5 separate regions of the Homo sapiens genome follow, and regions 1, 2, 3 and 5 are each linked to region 4. The links are contacts of gene promoters, found by promoter capture Hi-C in blood cells and fetal thymus (Javierre and others, 2016). All regions are on one chromosome and are shown on one strand. The core of a region is centred on a gene start or on the middle of the fragment in contact, and the rest is flanking DNA. Distances in the headings are between cores, read along the strand shown. Region 1 overlaps LPAR3 (lysophosphatidic acid receptor 3). Region 2 overlaps MCOLN2 (mucolipin TRP cation channel 2). Region 3 overlaps LPAR3 (lysophosphatidic acid receptor 3). Region 4 holds the start of SAMD13 (sterile alpha motif domain containing 13). Region 5 has its middle 31 kb from the start of LPAR3.

Region 1 (2,700 bases), core at 140-2,639, 590 kb after region 4:
CTGCATTTATAAAGCAAATACACTGCTTTTATTTAGACCGCATGTTTGCTTGGAAGGCCTTTGGACCAAATAGTGCACTTATGGAGGGGCTAATGTGCCCTCCAACCCAGCCCTGCCACCTGCCAAGCCATCCCTTGATAACTGGTCAATCTGCACATGGGTGAGTCAAGGCCAGGGCTAGTAGAAGCTCCAGCTTAATGTCCCAGGGAACAATGTAGACACAGGACTAGCTGATGAGTAATTAGAGGGGTTGATGAACATCCTCAGGAAGGGGTGGGGCAGGCTGTGCTGGGCAGGTTGCTTTCCACAGTGACACCCAGTCTGGCCCAGCCTGAGGTGTACAAATGATTCACATCTGAAGAGGGGTGACAGAATCATGGGAGTAGGGCAGTATCAGGGGTCATGGGCAAGGGAGGAGTTCAAGGTTGTAGATACACAGGACAAGAGGCCAGCCAAGGAAGAGGAATAAAGAGGAGGACATAAGACTGGGGGTGATGAAGAGAGGGGTGGGTATAACCCAGGATGTCAGAACCTTCCCCTCAATGGTACTAAATCCCCTCCCCCACCCTCCAGCTGGCTTGCCAGGACAGGTAGAGAGCAACAAATATCTTTCAGACTGAATTAAGTAATTAGCTTAATTTGGGGGTGGGGGAGCAATGCCTTTGGTCAGTTTAGAACTTTGCAGAGTAAACTAGAGACCCAAGTCAGCAAGAAGGCACAGGGGAGTGAGGATGGTATAGGTGGACCCAATACATTGTCCAACATTGCCATCAGCACCCTCCTCCTGACCTGTGGGATGGGTGGTGGCCAGCTGTTTGTGTTTGTCCACTAAGAACTGAGATGCGCAGACAGTACAGGTAATTCCAACACGAAATTAAAGCTTCTTTGGAACTTTGCCCTATGCCTTCGATCATGTAGTGTTGGGTAACCTCAGTCCTGAAATTTAACTTCCTCTCATATTCCCCACAGAGCAGTTTCTCAACCTTTGATGCTATTTCCTCCTCGAAGTCCAGTATGATGTCAGAGGACGGGAGAGAGGAATATGGAAGAACTGCAGCAGTGCCCCCTTAGCACTCAAAACATGCTTGTGGAGATACTGCCAACCCCCAATAGCCAGAGCTGAGTGGGCCTGCCTGGGGTGGCCCACATCTGGATGTCCTGCCTCTTTAATTCCAATGTTTATGCACTCTTCACAGGGTACAAAGCTCTTTCACGTACATAAGTTAATGGAACTCATTAACAATCCATGTAGACAGGTAGAAAAGTAATTATTATCCCCACTATATAAATGAAAAAAACTTAAACATGACAATCTATTCAGGGTCACAAGAACTCACAAAAGTGGGACTAGGATTCAAAGACAGAACCCTGTGCTCCAAGTACCTCTAGTCCACCGTTTGTAAAAGCACAAAGTCTCTGCACTTATGCAGATAGCTCCCCAGCCCCATCACCACCTCTGCCATCCACAGCAGGACTGAGTTCCAGGTGACTCCTCCACAAATACAGAATCCAGGATGAGGAACAAAGGATCATCAAGGCCGGAAAGGGGGAGGCTCAGTACCTGCAGGAGGAATGACGAAGGGAGGAACAAAAGGCCCATGGCCAGGAAAAGAGAAAGCAAGTAAGAAAAGTGTGTATAACATCTCTAAGTCATCTAAGGCTTAGAAATCTTTGCACTTTTACCAGAATATACATTTGCACCCATGTTTACACAAGTGTTAATACTTAAATTTTTATCTAGGAGGAAAAGAGGGCAACCAGCATTTAAGGAGTACTTCCTGTATATGAGAGACCATGCTCAGTGCTTTCTCTTTTAATCTTGGGAGATGGATATAATCTTCATTTTTACAGATGAGGAAATTAAGACTTAGAGAGGTGAAGCTATGTGCCCAAGGTCACAAAGCTTGGACTGGAACAAAAGCTGGTCTGACTGCAAAGCCTTGGTCTTCCATTTATACTGCATTAATAATGCCTTGGGCCTGGTCTCTGCCATCTAGAATCCTGCAAACAGACTTAACCACTCTGTTGGGTATAATCACAGGCCAGAAAGCATTTGAACTAATGTATACTCCAAGGAGAATGGCTAATGGGTAATCTGAGGTACAGTAATTCCCATTTCAGTTATAGTGATTCCCCTTGCCCCAGCCCAAAGAAATAAGAGGCGGGTCTTAAGTTATCACGCACTGCTGCTCCTCAGCAGCAGGCTGAGAAACTTGGGGGAGAAGCAGCCAGCCTTAGGCATGTGTGTATAAGTGATGTTGAGAGTGTGTGTCTGGGTGCTGCCTGGCTACAATGCTGTGTGTGCATTTCTTCCACTGTGCACGTGTGTTTCTGAAAAATGAGATGGAGAGTTAACATGCTGTAGTTTCTTAAACAGATTCCGGTGAACACACATGAAAAACAATCTCATACTTTAATGTTTTAAATTCAGTCTCCATTCATAGAAAACATATGCAGGCCTGTTCTAACAAATATCTTGCAGAACAGCAAGATATCTAAAATAGGTCTGATCTGATAAAAAAAAAAAGAGTGGTAGTTGATAAATGCAATTGAAAGGTTTAGACAAGAGGAGTGTCATATGTAATTAAATCAAAACCTCAAAGTTTCAAATTCTAAAGACAAAGAAAAAATTTTTGCCAAAATGACCTATTTTCTTAGTTATATGATAGTGACAATCAATGTAAGTGTTGTCCAAATAGT
Region 2 (2,700 bases), core at 41-2,540, 640 kb after region 4:
AGGATTAGGCAAAATCAAATGCAGACTACGTCCCTGCTCCACAAATGGTACTCTGTGGACTTCCAATTTCCCCTGACCCCAGTGTGCATTTGTACACACGCCACAGCCAGAATAAGATATGTGGGGAGCGGAAGTATATATTCATAAGAGCCCTGAGGGTAAAAAGGCAAAATGAAACTCAGGGGAGAATTTTAAAACTATTTTAAAAACAGAATAAAGTATTTTATGCTTCATTATAATCCATTTACCATGCCTCCCTGTCAAAATGAACTCTGATTTGAAGACAAAAGATGAAACCCACACATGCTATTACTCTGTTCTTCAGATCACTCCTGAATTGAAGAGGGATTTGTTATTCTGGAAACATTCAAAAGCCTGAGAGTTCACCACTGTGCATCTGTACATATCAGCTCAGTTTTAAGCAGGATAATTATCTGATCCCACTTGACATACTCAGAGCCTTTACTCACTTCCTACACCTCAGGCTGATGAATGCCTCATAGCGGGCAACTACTCAAAGGAATCTGATTTAGTCAAAGGTCTCCAAAAAAGGCAGGTGCACAATATCGGTGGTCCACTGCTTGGGCAAACTGAGGGCGCAGGCCAAGAGGGCAGGAAGAGAATGCGAACACACTCTTACCTTCCGTAACCTTAGAGCAAGAACAATGGATCTTGTACACAGAATAAGAGATGCCAAGCAAATCACAATGACAAATGCATCAAACACCAGGACATACTGAGCATTTTTCTGAGCTGAGGAATAAAACAGAATTCAAATGTTAAACACACCTTACCGGAGAATAATTTCCAAACAAAATGGCAGTGTGAAAAGAAGTTCAAACAATAAATGTTTTGTCTATTGTTAAAACAAAATGGTAAATATCAGAAACAAATCACACCGCATTCATTCAGAAGTACATATGTAAGGCAAAACATTCCCTGATATAAAGCTATACATTTAAAAACATGTGAGCTGGGCCAGGCACGGTGGCTCACGCCTGTAATCCCAGCACTTTGGGAGGCTGAGGTGGGCGGATCACGAGGTCAGGAGATCAAGACCATCCTGGCTAACACGGTGAAACCCCGTCTGTACTAAAAATACAAAAAAATTAGCCAGGTGTGGTGGCAGGCGCCTGTAGTCCCAGCTACTTGGGAGGCTGAGGCAGAAGAATGGCATGAAGCCGGGAGGCAGAGTTTGCAGTGAGCCGAGATCGTGCCACTGCGCTCCAGCCTGGGCAACAGAGCGAGATTCTGTCTCAAAACAAAAAACAAAAAACAAAAACAAAAGCAAAAACTATGTGAGCTGCTAATAAATTCACTCAAATTTATATATAAATATTTACTGTAGAATAGAATTCAACAGAAAGTGATCCATTTGGGCTCCATTCAAAAAAAGGCAAAACTGCTGACCTACTCTGAGTTCTTTCACATAAAAGCAGAGACATCAAGTTCACCATTAATAAGAGAACAAACAAATTAAAACACCACCACTCAGAATCCCCACTTCTGCTTCTCAACCTCACTGTGCACTTTCCCAGGACATAGTGCCAATCTTATAAGCCTTCTCTGTATGTAGAGAAAATTACTTCTTGGAACAGAAGCAAGGAGGGGAGTGGTAATCAGATTTTTGGTTTGGAGCACACAGCAGCAAGAAGAATGTATGGGAAGGAGATGAATCTAACCTTAGTTTCTCTCAGACTTCACGGTAGTGTCTCCAATCCCAGCCCAGCTCTCTTCTGCCTGACCCCCACCTTCTTCACCCTACAGCCACACTGATCTTCCTTCTTTCCTGCTCTCACCTCAGGGACTTTGCACATGCTGATCTGTCTGCCTGGAACAGCACTTCTCCCACATGCATGGCTCAGCTTATTTATTTTCAGCCTCAAGTTCCAAATGAAAAATCTCCCATCTCAGAAAAGAATTCCTTAAATTCTCATCTCTATTAGCCCTCTCCTATATACTTTCATGGTTCTTGGTTACTACACACACCCAGAGCTCCTTTACTTTCCTCTGCACAACAGACACTGACCTTTCATTACATCTGCAAAGGCAGCACAGCATGGAGCACAGAGACAGTGTAGAATGGGAAAGAACATGGTCTCTGGAGCCCGACAGCCTGGCTCTGAATCTCAGCTCTGTACTCAGAAGCTGTAGAGCCTTGAGGAAGTTGCTTAACCCCTGTGCCTCAGTTTCCTCCTCTGAAAAGTGGGTAGAATTAAAAAATACCTACATCATAGGGCTATTGTGAAAATTATGCAAGTTCATATACAAAGAGCCCATGAAACAGCCCCAGGAAAATAATAATAGCAAACACTTACAGTGGTTACTATTTTATCATTAAGTGTCCATCTTCCCCATCAAGTGACAGGCTCTCTGAAGCAGGGCCCATAGGTAGTTGCTACGGTTTGAGTTACTTGTCTCCTCCAAAACTCATTTGAAATTTAATCCCCAATGTGACAGTATTGAGAGGGAGGGCCTTTAAAAGGTGATTGGGTCATGAGGTCTCTGCCCTCATAAATGGATTAATCCACTCATAGATTTATGGGTTATCAAGGGAATGGCTCTAGTGGCTTTTTAAGAAGAGGAAGAGAGACTTGAGCTAGTATGCTCACCCCCCTTACCATGTGATGCCCTGCACTGCCTTGGGACTCCACAGAGACTCCCAACCAGCAAGAAGGTCCTCACCAGAAGTGGGGCTCC
Region 3 (2,700 bases), core at 114-2,613, 550 kb after region 4:
CACGACAGGGCATAATTCCAGCAAACACCCTTTACTCCCAGTTCCCACCCAACATGTTTGCCATAGATACACAATGAACATAGTAGTCCCCAGCTGAAATTTTCGAAGTACAATGTTAACATGGAATTTGATAAAATTCTACCATTGGCCAGCACACACCATACTATTCCAGATGTTGAATTAGCCCAGTGATATGACGCCTGAGTCACAGACGATGACCACATTTCTCCTTTGGCAGAAATCAAAGCCCTAAGAGAGGGTGTTCCTGAGTTCTGGAACATGAAACCTTCCAGGAGGCTGGGTGTTGGCAGGAGGGTTGGATGTAGTTGGGTACTGGAACCTCTCCCTATACCTTCTTTTCAAAGAGGTCAAATTTGAGAAATGTTTCTCCACCTTGCACTCAGAAAATATTCAATAATTGTTTGTTTCAGCTTAAGAGGAAGGTTTCAGTTTTCTAAAAAGAAGAAAAGCCAGAAGTTCTGAAGAAGGGGGCATGAGAGGGGAATAAAAGAAGCTGAGTGCATTTGGTGTAATGGAACTGAAGGGGTCTGGACCAGAGGAAATGGAAGAAGTAAGAGGGCAGGGCAGTGGTTACATTGGAAACAAGAACACTGATTTGGGAAAAGCACTTCTAAACTGACTGCCAAGGGAGGTGTCTGAAACAGTGGCGTGGGGGGAAAAGAAAGAACCAAGAGCCAGACTTGAGGTAACAAATGGCTACATATGGCAGAGACAGAAGAAAGAAGACAGACTCCTGGAAATGTGGTGTTGGAAGAGGTGTCAAGATGGCATTTGAACAAGTGGGATGGAGTGCCATATGAGGGATTTTCTTTTTTAATTTGAAGCTGTCTTCCTTCCAGCATCAGACACTGAGGTCATCTCAGTCCCCACGTTCCCCGTCAGAACAGGAAGGGATGTGTCAAACAGCAGCGTAGGGGCAGCAACTGAGTGGCAACTGCATTTTTGCACCCACCGATTGACGGCCTGCCCTGAAAACAATGCCTCCCTCCCATAGGCCTCTGTAGCAATGCCATGAAGCACACAGGAAAATCATCTGTGACAAAGGTGCTCCTGGGACTAGCCATTTCAAGACAAAAGTACGAACACCCCCGGACTCAATGTACTGAGTACTGGTGCCTGGATGGCTTGACTCTGAAAAGAATCACCCTCCTTCTGATATGACTCTCTGCACAGCAACAAGAGAGCCCCTGTGTGCCAACAATCTGTTCATTTCACTCAGCATTTCTTAAGGCAAAGCTTTAACTGTTTTCTTTTTTTCTATTTTAACAGATATTTGATTACTAAGGCATGCAGGCAGTAAACATTGAAAGCAGGCTTCTGTGTTGCAGAAGCAACTACAAGGCCACAGAAGCTGAAAACAAATGTTTCAGAATTCCTCACGAACTTAGGCACATGTACTTTTTTTTTCTCTCTCTCTCTTTTTTAATGGAGTAAGGACAGTTCATCGATGAAGCTTATGAATAATACCAAAAGGCCTGTGTTTTGGTCCCAACTCTTTTCAGTCACAGGGCAAACTTTCCAATCCTAGCAAAGGTGATAATAGCAGCTGACGAACTAGCTACTCTCGAAGGATTTGTTAGCAAGAGGGGGACAGTTTCTTATGAGGACCATCCTATAATAGAGCTCTATACACAAGATGTTGGTGCTGTATCACAGGACTCTTGTCAAGCTAATGCTTTGTGGCCAGGGTCTCATTTATAATGTTTTATTCATAAATGTTGCAAAAGTGAAATGAATTATTAATGGAAAGATCATCTGTCAGAGACAGGAATCATTAACAGAATTTCGTAGGGGAGAGGGTGGTTTATAGGGACTAGCAATGTAAGCACAGAGCTTTTCAGTTCTGTGGTGACCATGTGTTCAGACTGTCCTGGGTCTCCAGTAACAGAGCTGGTACCATTTGCCATCTGTCAAGGCAGCCTCTGCAAAGCACACCCGGTCAGCTTCCTCTTGGCTACTTGTCCATTTTATAAAATCTGCCATCATGATGGCACCAACAGTAGGCTTCTAGTCCCTGTGTCCAGGTTACTTGGTGATAGAACTGGACATAAAAGGGCATTCTGCTTGAATACAGGGCATGGCTCTTTAGAATCAAACTAAGGTCTAAGAGTAGCTAATATTTACTTAGTACTTACTATGTACCAAACATTATGCTAGGTGCTTTATGTGTATTAACTCATTGAATCCTCAACACCTCACCATGCCAAAGATACTATTATCCCTTTCTTACAGATGAAAAAACTAAGGCACAGACAGGTGAGATGAATTGCTCAAGGTCACACAACTTGGAATTGACAAAGCTAGGATTTAAATCCAGTTCCCCCCGCCGACTCCAAAGCCCCTATTCTTACCAATGATTTTAATAAGCATAAAGTTTGAAGAGTATAGAGCTGTCATTTTCCAGGAGATGTTTTCATAGCTGTCACTAGCATGCTGCAAAACATTTGGATCAAGGGCGAGCTAAATGTTGAAAGAGCATGTGACTTTACAGAAATGAACTTTATAGAAACCAAGGGAGATACAAGTTATAAACTTCATGACTTGGGTCCAATCGTTCCAGCCCCCTCACTTCCAAGAGACTATTAACTGACTCTGAAAAGTAGAGTATGGAGCCAGTCTCCTGGGGTTGGAATCTCAGCTCTGCTACTAACCTTGAGCAAGACATTGAACCTTTTCGGG
Region 4 (2,700 bases), core at 143-2,642:
GCAAATATTTGAAATCTTTCTTGGCACTGATCTTCAAGGAAGTCAAAAATTTCTAATATAATTCCTGGAATAAGTAAAGAACAAATTTTTTGACCTTGAAATTCAGGTTCCAAATTTAGATCAAAGGTAATCTCCTAATGTCCTAAAAGATTATTTTTAAAAAGGGAAGCAGGCAGCTTTTTCCTCAGATTCTACCTGAATTCTACAGGATATTACAGCAAGTGATAACTTTTTCCAGGATCTTTCTGGGGAACCTGTGTTCTGTGCCCTGTCTTGAGTGGTTTTGTTGACCATCTTGACCTAAAAGTGTCCAAATGTTGATTGATGTTTATTTCAATGAAGAGGCAACCATGTATGTTTTCTGTGTATGTGCAGAACATTAATGGGATGAGATTATTCTCCTGGAAAAGTGGTTTAAGCCAAGCAAGGGAACTGTGAGAATGACCAGGGTAACTTAAACAAAAGATCTTGCCCAGCCTCTCTGCTCCACCTCCCAGTTTTCTGATTTGGTATTTAGGATGATGGCGGGAGAGACTATGAATTTTGGGGTGGGCATAATGTCTTTCTATTCATATGTAACTAATATAGTACCGGGTACTCATAGATTGTAAGTGTTGGTTAAATTTCTTGAATTATGCTTTTTGTCCAACTGGGATAAACAGTTAAAATTAAACCTCCCAGAACTAATTGTTTTCGTTTTGTAGAATAAGGTTTTGTTTGTTTCAGTTTGAATTTTTGCTGGCTTCATTTGGCAGGATAAATGCCAAAATAAAAGAATGTGGGCGTTTTCAGGAGATCTGGTCATCTATTTTGCATCCTTTCCGAAATATGTTACTTCCTGCATAATGAAGTAAAAGGATTTGCTGCTGGGCAGTGCTTTCCTTATTCTCACAAAGAGATTACTTAAAAGCCAGCCCTGGGAACTTTGTCCATGAATCTCTATTAGGAAAAAAAGAGTAACATGGGACTGCAGCTTCCGAGTGTTCTCTGGTTATAGCCCATAAGCACTGGCTTCTCACTCTTATTTTTCCCTCTGGGGAGAAAAGGAAATAGTTTGAAACATGACATTCATGCTCAGAACAACAGCTAAGACCTATCATGCAGCAACAATGAAGGGGAGGGAGAAAATAAGAAGCTATTGAGACAGCTTGTTTTTCTTTGTACAAGACAGGTGCAGGGAGAATTCTGCAGGTTTTGGACTCCTTACTCATTTCTTGCACTAATTGTGCTGAAGGTAGTTAGCAAAAGTGAACAGGCACACTGTAGCTTTAAAAAGTCAGCCATGAACCAGAAGGCAGTTGGTGCAGCTTGTGTGTGATTCCTAACGTCATGTTGGCTGAGAGCCAGCCTGGTTTTATTTCACTGTGTCAAATTGTACCTCCTTATTGAATTCCTTTGCCAGCCTACTTTGTGAAAGAAAACATTGGGGTTTCTTTGGCTGTTCTTGATAAGCCTATAAAAAATGATATTTTTTAGTTGCTTATAGGTAGGTTTTCTTTTTACTCTTCCACAGAAAAGAAAATAATAGTAATAATAATAAGACAATGTAGTGTGGTGTTGCAGAGTATCATTGTGAGTGTTTTGTTTTGTTTTCTGAGATGCTTAGAAAATGGTGAATGTGTAACAGTTTCCAACTGAAGTGAAATCATATTCTGTTAGCATGGAGCAGCAGCACTATCTTCCTGTCTACTCTCTAACGGTGTGTGAATGTATGCTAATATCTATATATATATATTAAATGTTGGATTTCTCTATCAATGATCTAAGTGGTTTGCAGCTGGAAGTTTGTGTGTATGTGTGTGTTTCAGGAGTGAAAATTATCCCACACTTACAGTGTTATTTGTTAATCATCTACTTCTCTAACAGTGATAAAATCTTGCGAATATACTAAATGATGCACTTGCCATGTCAGAGTAATCCCTAGAGAAGGAGTGCCGAAGTATAAAGTGATTTGAGTGGAAATGTATTTAATTTATGGCTTCAGCTGAATAAGAGCAAACACGTTTCGGGACTGTTTCTTCCTTTTTTTTTTTTTTTTTTCTTAAAGCAGTTTTGTTCGTAGCTTTTTCATTTTGCTAATTGCATATTAATTGTGGAAGGCTTTTAATTTTCCACAGCCCTCATCCTACTAAACAAAAAGACAGAGTGATGGATGCTACAATATCTCCTTAAATGTTTTGATGATTTTTCATAAATCTAATGAGTTACCTACTCTTTCTTACACATACACACACACACACACACACACACACACACACACACCAGCACCACCTTTCTGTGCTAAGGGCTATCTGGCATTTTTTGTGAGCTTCCTGCTTTACCACAGCATGGCCATCTCACAGACGGGTTTTTGAGGCTTTCGTTGAGAATGTGAGGTAGGGGAATACTTGCTGACAAAAGCTTTAAGTGTCCTTCTGCATTGCAATGAAAAAATCTAGGAGCAAGGGGGAGTGGACAAAAAAAAAACCAAACACAATAAGAAAAAACAAATCAAAGCCCATAATGGGAGGGGGGCAGGAAAAGGGGGATTGTTTTTCTCTACTTTGACTCATTTATGAGTTGCAGTGTCTTAAGTGAGAGCTAGGCACCCAGAAGAAGCTGTGCCAGTTCACACAGCACTTGTTTTCAACGAGGATTCAATTTCATTTGCAAATGCTTATTGTCAAGGCAGGGAGTGCCAGTACAGATGAAAGCACCCCA
Region 5 (2,700 bases), core at 166-2,665, 620 kb after region 4:
TGATCCATGCGCCTCGGCCTCCCAAAGTGCTGGGATTACAGGCGTGAGCCACCACACCCGGCCAGTGCTGGGCCATTTTTACATGAAGGTCCACAGGGACAAGAGGGCGACTGGCTACCCCTAGATCAAAAGGCTGGGCTATTGTGCTTTTCATAAACCCATGATTCCAAGCGTGGTCTTCCACTGGATCAGTGTACCCTTTTTACAATTGTTGGAGTGTAGGTCCTCAGCAGGAGTGGGGGACAGTGCCTCGAATCGCACGAAGAGCTTTTCCTAACTACCCTCTCTCACTCTTTTGCATTCACCACTTTGAGTCAGCAATGGGTTGAGAAGGAAGTGGGCCTGAATTTTATACATTCTGACAAGTTTGGTTAAGGGGGTAGTCCTAGTAGAGGACTGAGGGTCTCACCCAGGGTGAAGGACTGAGGCTTTGTGACAGCTTGTGCACCTCCTGGACCTTTTCTCTTCCATCAGGACTGACAGCTGTGCCCCAGCCATTTAGGCTGCTTCTCCTTGCTGCTCCTCTATGGCTAGGTGTGAGCTTCTTAGGGCTGAACTGATCATTGCCTCCAGGACAGGACTGGATGGGGGACTTTTGCACACTTAAAGTTCTAACTAGAACAAAGTCCACCAGAAGTGTGTGGTGAGTGCATTATAAAATAAAAATCTTCCTGGCTGGCCCAGATGAACAGATTTGTACATTTGTAGACCATGTTAGTAAGACATGTTTTTTGAAGAGCTAATAGTCATTGAGCACTTAGGAGTCACGCCCTATTCTATGCACTTTACGTTTGACTCATTCAATCCTCATAATCCCATTTTATGGATGAGGAAATCTATGCATGGCATGACCTGTCCAAGGAGACTCAGGTAGCAGTAGGAAGAGGACAGCTGAGGCAGACAGGTTGCAGAAGCAAAGTCGTGTCTGCATTATTCCATGGTCCCATGGAAACTATTGCAAACATGTTAGAGAATCAAAGGGAAATAACAGCTCAGGAATGAATTCAATACCAGGCTCTGCATAAATTATGTGACTTAAGTGCCAGTCTTGGTTGAGGTTTATCATCACTTAGAGGAAGAAAGTAACTTGTTCAGGGCCTTAAAGTTAGGTTAAGCTGGAATTTTAACTCAAGTCTGTCTAGATGGCTCTTATGCCCACACTCTCTCCTACCAGCTCAAGTGAAAAAGCTTTAAGATGTTGTATATGGTTTTGACTGTGTCACCACAAGCCAAGGAGTTAAATTCAAGGGTTGGAGATCCCAGAATGAAACCAGCAGGCAGAAAGAATGTGTCTCCTAACTTTCACAGGGAACCCTCTAAGTGGAGGCCTATGATAAGAGAGAAAATGATTTATCCCAGATGCATCTATTAGCAGAATTATGAGACAACATTGTTCAATAAAATCCAAATAACAATACAGTTGATAAAGTGACAATTGTTTAACATTATTAAAAAGGGAGAAAACAATGTTTCTATAGATGTGAGCTAACCCTGAAAAACATTTTTCTTTCTAAAACTGTTTTGTCCAGCTGGAGGGAAAATAAATAAAAGAAAACATGAAAGCCAATAGAAGAATAATATGAGCATGAAAACCCATCATTAATCTTCTATTCAAATGGCAGTCACAGCTGCAGAACAAATGAAAGCTTTTTTTTTTTTTTTTTTTTGAGATGGAGTCTCACTTTGTCACCCAGACTAGAGTGCAGTGGCCGGATCTTGGCTCGCTGCAACCTCCGCCTCCCGGATTCAAGCGATTCTCCTGCCTCAGCCTCCTGAGTATCTGGGACTACAGGCGCCTGCCACCACACCCAGCTAATTTTTGTATTTTTAGTAGATACAGGGTTTCACCATGTTAATAGCAATTCTTGGGTTGGGCGTGGTGGCTCACGCCTATAATCCCAACACTTTGGCAGGCCAAGGCGGGCGTACACGAGGTCAGGAGATCAAGACCATCCTGGCCAATATGGTGAAACCCTATCTCTACTAAAAAAATACAAAAAATTAGCCAGGTGTGGCGGTGCATGTCTGTAGTCCCAGCTACTCAGGAGGCTGAGGCAGGGGACTCGCTTGAACCTGGGGGGCAAAGGATGCAGTGAGCCAAGATCATGACACTGCACTCTAGCCTGGCAACAGGGCAAGACTCTGTTTAAAAAAAAAAAAAAAGAGAGAAAGAAAAAAAATAGCAGTTCTTTTCAGAGACAAAACTAAGTATATGACAATATACTCAGAAGTTAACAAGTGGTCCAATTACGTATCTGATTCTTGGGTCAGGCAAATGACCCCAGAACCACCAGTTTAATGGTGTCTTAGTTTAAAAATCAAACATAACTCTTCACATATCTTGTAAAAAAGAAAGTTTAAAATAATTTTAGCAAAGTACTCTGTGTGTAGACATGAGTCATCTACTCTCTTATATACTTTAATGGTATTAACTGCATGATTTTCCCTGCCTATAGTTGGTGCAGGCATATGAAGATGGGGTCAGAGCAAGGAGGGGGAAGGTGACATGAGAAGGAAAATTGGGTAGGGGCTTGTGGGGAGGGCGACTGAGGCCAAGGAGAAAGAGGAAGAGCCCTGGAAGGAGGGTCCTGCTTAATTCAAATTCTCCTCTTCACCAATAACTTTAAATAGTTGGCCACTGAGATAGCTCAGGTATGAAATAAGTCTATGCATGAAGTGATCTTCATCTCTCAAGCTATC

The links. Contacts are between HindIII fragments. The CHiCAGO score rates a contact against its expected background, and 5 or more counts as called.
Region 1: a contact is called between a fragment that was not itself captured here and the fragment with the promoter of SAMD13 in region 4, in 2 of 17 cell types (M2 macrophages and M0 macrophages). The highest score is 7.6, in M2 macrophages.
Region 2: a fragment that was not itself captured here is called in contact with the fragment with the promoter of SAMD13 in region 4 in 2 of 17 cell types (monocytes and fetal thymus); the score reaches 6.3 in monocytes.
Region 3: a fragment that was not itself captured here is called in contact with the fragment with the promoter of SAMD13 in region 4 in 1 of 17 cell types (M1 macrophages); the score reaches 5.1 in M1 macrophages.
Region 5: a contact is called between a fragment that was not itself captured here and the fragment with the promoter of SAMD13 in region 4, in 1 of 17 cell types (M2 macrophages). The highest score is 5.7, in M2 macrophages.

What each region holds. Positions count from the first base shown.
Region 1 is chr1:84,888,645-84,891,344 of GRCh38, forward strand. The region is part of intron 1 of LPAR3 (lysophosphatidic acid receptor 3); the gene reads right to left. Among named protein-coding and RNA genes, the nearest start is that of LPAR3, 3.2 kb to the right of the region's middle. The HindIII fragment of the contact is 1,023 bases long and covers 879-1,901 here.
Region 2 is chr1:84,940,239-84,942,938 of GRCh38, forward strand. It overlaps MCOLN2 (mucolipin TRP cation channel 2), which reads right to left. Exons shown (of 14, transcript NM_153259.4): 8 at 641-753. Among named protein-coding and RNA genes, the nearest start is that of LPAR3, 48 kb to the left of the region's middle. The HindIII fragment of the contact is 4,398 bases long and covers 1-2,700 here.
Region 3 is chr1:84,855,128-84,857,827 of GRCh38, forward strand. The region is part of intron 2 of LPAR3 (lysophosphatidic acid receptor 3); the gene reads right to left. Among named protein-coding and RNA genes, the nearest start is that of LPAR3, 37 kb to the right of the region's middle. The HindIII fragment of the contact is 217 bases long and covers 1,256-1,472 here.
Region 4 is chr1:84,300,316-84,303,015 of GRCh38, forward strand. SAMD13 (sterile alpha motif domain containing 13) reads left to right here and starts at 1,393. Exons shown (of 4, transcript NM_001134663.2): 1 at 1,393-1,486. The HindIII fragment of the contact is 6,789 bases long and covers 1-2,398 here.
Region 5 is chr1:84,922,712-84,925,411 of GRCh38, forward strand. No RefSeq gene overlaps it. Among named protein-coding and RNA genes, the nearest start is that of LPAR3, 31 kb to the left of the region's middle. The HindIII fragment of the contact is 458 bases long and covers 1,187-1,644 here.